Linked DNA regions of Homo sapiens: region 2 is linked to region 1. The links are contacts of gene promoters, found by promoter capture Hi-C in human tissues and cell types (Jung and others, 2019). All regions are on one chromosome and are shown on one strand. Each heading gives the region's core, a stretch centred on a gene start or on the middle of the fragment in contact. The rest is flanking DNA. Distances are from core to core; before and after follow the strand shown. Region 1 holds the start of HHAT (hedgehog acyltransferase). Region 2 overlaps UTP25 (UTP25 small subunit processome component).

The links. The method cuts DNA at HindIII sites, captures the fragments that hold promoters and counts their contacts. A contact is called where the count stands out against the background at its distance.
Region 2: a contact is called between a fragment that was not itself captured here and the fragment with the promoter of HHAT in region 1, in 1 of the 25 tissues and cell types used here (dorsolateral prefrontal cortex).

What each region holds. Positions count from the first base shown.
Region 1 is chr1:210,326,318-210,330,422 of GRCh38, forward strand. HHAT (hedgehog acyltransferase) reads left to right here and starts at 2,585. Exons shown (of 12, transcript NM_018194.6): 1 at 2,585-2,787. RefSeq lists enhancers at 1,758-1,927, 2,802-3,161 and a silencer at 2,392-2,641. The HindIII fragment of the contact is 7,053 bases long and covers 360-4,105 here.
Region 2 is chr1:209,838,628-209,843,106 of GRCh38, forward strand. It overlaps UTP25 (UTP25 small subunit processome component), which reads left to right. Exons shown (of 12, transcript NM_014388.7): 7 at 282-501; 8 at 2,226-2,428; 9 at 3,638-3,820; 10 at 3,956-4,068. Among named protein-coding and RNA genes, the nearest start is that of UTP25, 13 kb to the left of the region's middle. RefSeq lists an enhancer at 1,177-1,471. The HindIII fragment of the contact is 3,091 bases long and covers 1,533-4,479 here.

The DNA.
Region 1 (4,105 bases), core at 1,335-3,834:
ACGGGGTTTCACCACGTTAGCCAGGATGGTCTTGATCTCCTGACTTCGTGATCCACCCACCTTGGCCTCCCAAAGTGCTGGGATTACAGGCGTGAGCCACCATGTTCTTGTTTTACTATGCATTTCATTGAGCTTTTTGCAATATATTTTTGTTTCCTACTTTTATTTCCCTCCTCCTTTTTCTAGTGGGTTGTCTATAAATGTGTCTTGCTCATCTATAATTGATTTCTAATGTTTTCTTATTGATTGTATTAACTCTATATATAATTTTAAAATTAACACTTTGCAAATTTCTTGCAAATATCCCAGTCTATTGCTTATCTTTAAATTTTGGCTATTATGGCCAAGCATGGTGGCTCACACCTGTAATCCCAGCACTTTGGGAGGCTGAGGCAGGTGCATCACTTGAGGCCAGGAGTTCGAGACCAGCCTGGCCAACAAGGCAAAACCCTGTCTCTACTAAATAGCCAGGTGTGGTGGCTGGTGCTTGCCTGTAATCCCAGCCACTCAGGTGGCTAAGGCACAAGAATTGCTTGAATCTGCAGTGAGCTGAGATCATGCCACTGTGCTTAGCCTGGGTGACACAGTGAGACTGTCTCTAATACATACATATATATATATATATATATATATATATATATACACACACACATAAATTTTGGCTATTTTTATTTGATGTTTCTGATTGCCTGTGTTTAAATCTGCCTTTATCTCCTTTGTGTTCGCCGGTGAATTTAAAGTGCATATGTAGACAGGGGTTAAGTGTAAATCACACTGAACCTATATTAACAACAGCATCTTTTAGAAATAATATAGGAGCTGTTATCACATCCCTGTCCCTGAGTTTGACACTACCTGAGTTGAGTTCTTATTCTGCCACTCCCTCTGCCAAACCCTTGGATCTAGAGTTGACAGATAAAATACCCAGTTAAGTTTGATTTTCAGATACCCAGGATGTAAATTTGAATTTCAGATATACCATTTTTTTTTTTTTTTTTTGGTAGAGATGGAGTTTCATCATGTTGGCCAGGCTGGTCTCGAACTCCTGGATTCAAGTTATCTACTCACCTCGACCTCCCAAAGTGCTGGGATTACAAGCTTCCTGTAAGTACTTAAAAAAAATAAGTATATCCCAAATATTGCATGGGTCATAGTGATACTAAAAAGTTACATATTGTTCACCTGAAATTATTTACTTATTTTTTTGAGACAGAGTCCGGCTCAGTCACCCAGGTTGGAGTGCAGTGGTGCGATCTGAGCTCACTGCAACCTCTGCCGCCCGGGTTCAAGCGATTCTCGTGCCTCAGCCTCCCAAGTGGCTGGGATTACAGGTGCAGGCCACCACACCCGGCTAATTTTTGTATTTTTAGTAGAGACGGGGTCTCACCATGTTGGCCAGGCTGGTCTCAAACTCCTGGCCTCAAGTGATCCTCCTGCTACCGCTCCTAAAGTGCTGAGATTACAGGCGTGGGCCACCGCGCCCAGCCTGAAATTCAATTTTAATTGAGTATGCTGTATTTTTATTTGCTAAATCTGGCACTCCTATTTGGGGCTAGTTTACTAACACCTGCTTACTGAACACCATCCAGTACCAGGTTTTGGGGTGAGTGGGTTGGGGGGAAGCAGAAAGAAAAGATAGCTCCAGCTCTTGGAGAGTTCATACTCTGGTTTCCTGGAGAATTCTAAAATCATTAAAATAATCCTCTCGACCATTACAATGACTGCTAGATGAAATTTCTGAGAGCACAGCTTCCGAGTTTCCCTGCTGCCTAGGGCAGAGTTATCCACCTTCACCTTATCATAGAACCACCTGAGACGCCCCTGCCATGGACAGTCTGATGCTTTTGGTTTGGGGAGGGATCCAGAAGCCCGAGGTTTTAATGAGAGCCACGTGATTCTGCTGAGATAAGTCTGGAGAACTCTGGCAAGCCTGTCTCTTGGCTCAGGCTTGGAGGCCTCCGAGCAGCAACATCGTCCCAATTATACCCCGTTGGAGCATCTTCAGATCTTCCACTCTTTTCACAACGCAATCAAAATCTTCGTACCCATTTTGCAGTAGTGATCTCTGTAAGTTGCTTTACAATTCATAAAGTTTATTCTATTTGATCTTCACTCTAATTTACAAAGAAAAGCAGGGAAGTCTATTTCTGTTTTACAGAGGTGTACAGGGAGGCTCACAGGGGCTAAGTTCACACAGTAAGCCCTCGAAGCTGCCAGGGCTGCAAAGCCCACCCTCTTTCCACCGCACCGAACTACCTCCTTTCGCCTACAAAACGTAGGTGGGGACCACTGGTGTTGGAATGACGGCCCACCTCGAGTTTCAGGTGACTTCCACTCTGCAATTAACTTGCAGGCAGCCCCAGACCTGCAATGAACACACGGGTGGGGGAGAGATATGCACGCCAGGGTCAGTGGGAACCAACAGCCGAGGGGTGAGCGGGGCTAGGGGCCCCGGGCCGCCGGCGGGGCAAACGCGGTTCAGAAACGCAGGCCGCGCTCTGGCCCGCCCCCTGCAGCAGCACGGCCTGCTCGCCATCGCCCGGAGAGCGCCGCGGGTTCCCGAGTCCGGGCGCGGAGGGCGCGCGGGCACGGCGGCAGGGGCGTGCTCGGAGGACGCGCGCTGCGCTGCTCCTCCAAAGGGCAGCTCCGGGGGAAAGAGGGTGGCGTCCCGGGGAAGCCCGCAGCCGCCGCCGATGTCGCTGGGACTCGGAAGTGCCGAAAGAGGGGTGTTGGGAACTCGCGGCGCGCGTGAACGTTGCCGTCGCCGCCGCCCGGGACAGCCCGGAGGTTGGTAACTGGTGACCATAGGGGGTCCTGGGGAGGTTAGATGCTGAATTTTCTGCGTCAGTTTACTCTGTTAAAAAAAAAATGCACAAAACGCTTTCCGTTTCCTACCCAAGTTCCCGTGTGCGCGCCCGAGGGCGGGACAGAGGAAGTTCCCGGTCGGGCGAAGAAGACAAAAGCGGCGGGGGCCGCGCGCGCAGTGCGCCCGGGCAAAGGCGGGGATCTAGGCGCCGGGACAAGTCCGCGCACGGCCCTGCCCACGTCCTCTCTCCTTGGCTTCGTCCCCAGCTTCCGGAACTGCTGCGGGGAGTTGCGAACTCTGGTCCTCTTGGCAGTATCGGCGGTGCGCCTGCCTGCCTGCTGTGACTCCAGGGACTCTAAAGTTAGAGACTTCCTTTGCGTTCTATCTTCAGGACTCAGTTTTCTTCCTCTGTTCTGAGTCTAACCTTCAGGTGGCAGGTCTTTATGCGGAAAAACCCTCCCGCTAATCCTCACCAGAGGTACTTTACGGGTAGCATTGGTGTTAAGAAATGTGCTGCTACCTGTGTACATTGCTCTTGGATCAGGGTTGTAGGGCTAGGGCATTTGGCATCCTCAGAGGTTTGCATTACGTGGGAGTGAGACATTGCTTCTCTTTCTGTTTTTGTTGTTGTTTGTGTTTTTGAGGCGGAGTTTCGCTCTGGTCGCCCAGGCTGGAGTGCAATGGCACAATCTCAGCTCACTGCAACCTCAGCATCCCGGTTTCAAGCGATTCTCCAGCCTTGCCTCCTGAGTAGCTGGGATTACAGGCATGCGCCACCACGCCCACCTAATTTTGTATTTTTAGTAGAGACGAGGGTCTCACCGTGTTGGCCAGGCTGGTCTCGAATTCCTGACCTCGGGTGATCTGCCCACCTCGACCTCCCAAAGTGCTGGGATTACAGGCGTGAGCCACCGTGCCTGGCATCTCATTCATTCTCAGAGCTAAGGACCTATTTCAATGTGATTAAGTGCTATGGGAATGCAAGGAGAGGAGAGGGAAGGCTTCATTGAAGAGGCGGTAGTTCATTGAAGGAGACTTTGAGGAATGATTTTTTTCCCCTTCCATTCCTCATGTTCCATTTTCCCTGTGATTTTTCTCCCTCCTTTCTCGTTGCCAGTCAGTCCCTAATTGTGATTGTTTGATAAGGACAGCTCTGACCTGAGAGATTCAATTAATGTTAATTTAAGGAGACTGTGTGCTTATTAGGTGCTTTAGATACATTATTTCTAAACCTTACAGTAACTGGGAAAGATAAGTGTTGTTATCTCTTTTCACAGTAGGATAGAGAAAGCCTTGGAG
Region 2 (4,479 bases), core at 1,828-4,327, 490 kb before region 1:
GCATTGGCTTATTGTAAAAGGTATTTCCAAATTCTGCTTGAGAAATGTCTCACGTGGACTGATGGGTCTGAAGTCCGCAGGTCATGGTGCTGGGGTTATGAAAGGTGCTCAGTTTCTGGTGTTGAGCCAAGCCCTGCGCAAAGCGGGTAACATAGGTATGTTTCTTGGCTGGGGGCCACTGCTCTACATGGAGCTTTTTAGCTCCACTTCCTCAGCAGTTTCACCTCAAGATCCTGTTCCTTCCTCTTACCCCACTAAGGCTGCTGTTGCTGTCTGCACAGGTACTGATAGTGGTGCCATTCCGGGAAGCTGCTTTGCGGGTGGTGCAGCTCTTCATCAGCCTCCTCGAGGGTGACAGCAAGAAGAAAATCATTGTGAGCAACAAAAAGAGGTTTCAGGGAGAATATGGATCAGATCCCGAGGAGAGACCACCCAACTTGAAGAGGCCTGAGGATTATGAAGCCGTATTTGTGGGCAATATTGATGACCACTTCAGGATTGGTAATTCTTCCTTATCAACTTTGAGACCTAAAGTGTGAAGGTCTACATAGCTGGAGACCAGAAGCTGGAATTAGATATTTTCCCAGTGGATCACTCACTGTGCCTCTTTAACAGAACCAGTGTGCCTTTGAGACATGTTGTTTGCCATGGGAGAGTCTTGCCTTGGCTAATGGGGTGGACATTAGGCCAGTGGAGTCGGGAGGATCTCTGAGGCCATATATGAAAGGCACATGTACATTTATAACAGAAATTTATAGCAAGTTTATAACAGAAGTGTGAAAGCACACCCATAGCTGGTAGCAGATAGATGCTACAAGGGGTTCTCTAGGATGTTGGAAGTGATGGGGCTGATGGGGTCATTCTGGGGAGGCTGAATAAAATGACTGTCTCTACATAAAGGTGGACTTTCTCCTGTGTGCTACATAGATGCCTACCCTGAATAATCTCCACACATGACTTCCACCCAAATTTTCACATTTTTGCTTGTCTCTCATTCAGCTCCCATTGACTTTGGTTGGTTATACCTTTTATAGAGTAAAGTTCTTGGGGAAATGTTCATTAGTCACATATGCTCATTCACAAATACTTATTGAGTATCTACAGTGTGCCAGGCACTGTTAAGAAGCTGGGAATCTACAGATAAATATAGAAATAAAAGTTATAGTTCCCATTGCTAAGGAAATCCAGCCTACGACAGAGCAGGCAGTGCAGGATATGTGTGCAACGGTTGTTCTCGGAGCATTTAAAGCAAACCCCCTTACCCAAAATGGGGGCAGGGTGGTTAGGGAAGATGTCGTGGTGGAGGTGTCATCTGTACTAGGTGGAAACCTGTGTAGGATTCAGCCAGTTTCAAAGGGAGGTGGCTGAGTGGAGGAAAACATTTCAGACAGGAAACTGCCTGTTGCAGAGGCATCAGGGTGACTAAGCTTGGAATGACCTATGATTCACACAGGCTTCGGTATGGTGGAATGTAAGGCATAAGGAGACAAGAGCTCGTGTTTTGTTTGGAACATATATAGCTGTCCAGGAAGCAGTTGGTATATTGTTCTGGAGCTCAGGAAAAAGATATGGGCTGGAAATACACATTTGTGTGAAGGTGACATTAAAGCCATGATCAGTGAGTCAGTTAACCCAAAGCTTTATGCAGCACGAGAGCAGAGCTGACAAGTGAATCCACCAGTTTGCAGAAGAGTTATTTGGATCTGGAAGGACAGACAAGGGCCAGGTCAGTGATAGAAGCAAAAGTGAGAGTTGAAGTCATGGAAACTATTAGCAAGGAAAAGAGCATTGCAAGGCAGCTGTTAGTACATTCTGTGCCGTTTGTACTTTCCTCATAAGAAGCTCTCAAAAGTGTTCATCCTGTTGGTGACTGAGGACTGTGGGGACCTTAGCAAGAGTCATTTCTCTGGAGTCCTGAGAATCAGAGGCCGGATTGCAGTGGAGTGAGAAGTGAAGGAGAGATTTGAAAGTAGAGAGAATTCTCTGGAGCAGTTTGATAGTGACGGAAAGGAAGAGAAGGTAGAAGCTAGAAGGGACTATAGATGCAAGGGAGAGATTTCTCTTGTTCTTATGTTTTAATAATTAAAGCAGTTGAGCACAGTTACATGCTAAGAGGAACAAAAGAGATGTGGAAGCAATAGAAGTGGTGGACTGCTTTGAGAGGGTGGAAGGTAATGGCTTGGTAGTGACTAATGAATTGGTGTGTACTTGGCTGTTTTGTGTAGGAGTGGCAATACTTCAGAGAAGCATCCGACTCTATGCCCCGTTTTACTCCTCGGATATCCTCATTGCTTCCCCCCTGGGCTTGAGGACCATCATTGGTGGAGAAGGAGAGAAGAAGAGAGATTTTGACTTTCTGTCTTCTATCGAGCTTCTCATCATTGATCAAGCTGACATTTACCTGATGCAGAACTGGGAGCATGTCCTGGTAATGCTGGCCATTCACATTCAGTGGGACAGTATTCATATTTAGAGGGATAAGACACCCAGTGGTTTAAGTCCTAAAGAATTATTTAAGTCCAGATTAGAACTCTTGTTTGGAAGCAAGGACACACACTCCACATTTTCTAATTTGAAAAAGTCTTTTGTCCCCTTTTCTACCCAGAGATTGTCCATAATTAAACTGTCTACAGATTAAAATTCCTGTCAGTCATTTTCAAATCTCCAGAAAAGATTTCTTTCCCTTAAAATTTCTTTCTACTAACTTTAGGGTGGGTGGATGGGTGGATGGGATAGGTTGATGGATGGATGGGTCCTCACCAGGAACATCTTTACCTAACATAATCCCACATGTGGTTTTTGCTTATGCTGTTTTGTTTGGTCTTTGGTGAAGATGGGAATACCCTGCTCAAGATTTTTTAAGGTGGGATCTTGTTTTGTAGAGAAATATAGGATGTCTTTATTACCCGATGTAATTTGTACTGTAATTTTTTTCTCCTTCTCCACACACTCTGCAGTGTTATCAGTTTTAGGACTGAAAAACTGCTTTGGAACAATCCTTATTTAGGAACTATAGGTTTATTTTTCTAAGGCATATGGGAACTCACCCCTTCTACAACCCCATGTCTTGAAGCTTGCAGGAAGTTTGGGACAAATGAAGGGTAGAACTTACTTCTAAAGTAGGAAATAAATTTATTGTACTCATTACCCTTCAATATCTATTACAAGGTAAAAATATAATTAAAATGGAAAAGGCATTTGGCATAGTCGAGTTATATTCTTAGATTTGAGGAAAAGACAGGGTGACACTGCAACTATTCCTAATGTTTTGAGAACCAGGTAATTGAGGGACAGCAGCTCTGTTTTCCATGGCATTTCCCTTCTTGTCCAAGTCTGGGACTTAGGGACCCATAGAGAGACCAGTGTGGCATTTCAGAAGTTCATTTTAAAGGAACATTCCTGTAGGTACCATTTTGATCATTTGTTAAAATTCCAGGAGGGCCAGTTTTAGCTTATCTCCTCATTGGGGATGTTTGGCTGACCATGGGCAAGTCACTCACCCATGTGAGCCTCAGTTTTCTTGTTATAATTTAGGAGATGATAGTACATGAGTTGATAGACTCGGAAAATGTTTAGCAATGTCCAACATGTAAATGCTCTCAGTCAACACTAATGGTAATATTATTTCCACTCAAAGCATTTGATGAATCACATGAACCTACTACCCCTGGACTCACATGGGGTAGACTTTTCTCGAGTGCGGATGTGGAGCCTCAATAATTGGTCCAAGTACTATCGCCAGACACTGCTATTTGGGGCCCTTCAGGATGCCCAGATCAACTCAGTGTTCAACAAGTACTGTGTCAACATGCAAGGCCAGGTGGGTTCTCGTCTTGTTTCCTCAGTATCTTCATGAGCACTGTTTATTGTTTGGGTCCTGAGGTAGAAGGAGGCGATAGCTTCTGGTCAAGAAGGGGATGGCTGTCCACCTAACGCTCTTGTTGACTACTGGCAGGTGGCCGTGAGGAATGTCCCAATGACAGGCTCTATCAGTCATGTCCTGGTGCAGCTCCCACATGTCTTCCAGAGGATGGAAGCTGAAAACCTAGCTTCAGTGATTGATGCCAGGTAACCCACTCCTCCCAGCAGGCCCCTGGGGACCACATAGAGAGATTTGACTTGGGCATACAAACCTAGAATTGGATTCCATTTTGCTTTTATTGATAACTACCAAATCAGTTGAGATAATTGAACTTAATTATGTCATTTGTCAGAGGAGGAAACTGAAGCACAGAGAGAAATAGTGACTTTGGCCTAGGTCTCATAACTAGTTAGTAGCAGGGTTATTACTATAAATCAGGACTCTTTCACTCTTGACTGTGGCATTTTAAAATTATACAGCTTTATGCTACAAAGTGTCTCATGTCAGCAAGTTAATTGTAAGCCCCTCAGGGAAAGAACTATTTTTCTAATTGTATAATTTCCCCCTTTTTCTTCATTGTGTTTAGTTAGGGGACCCCAAAGAAGCTTAGTGAGGCT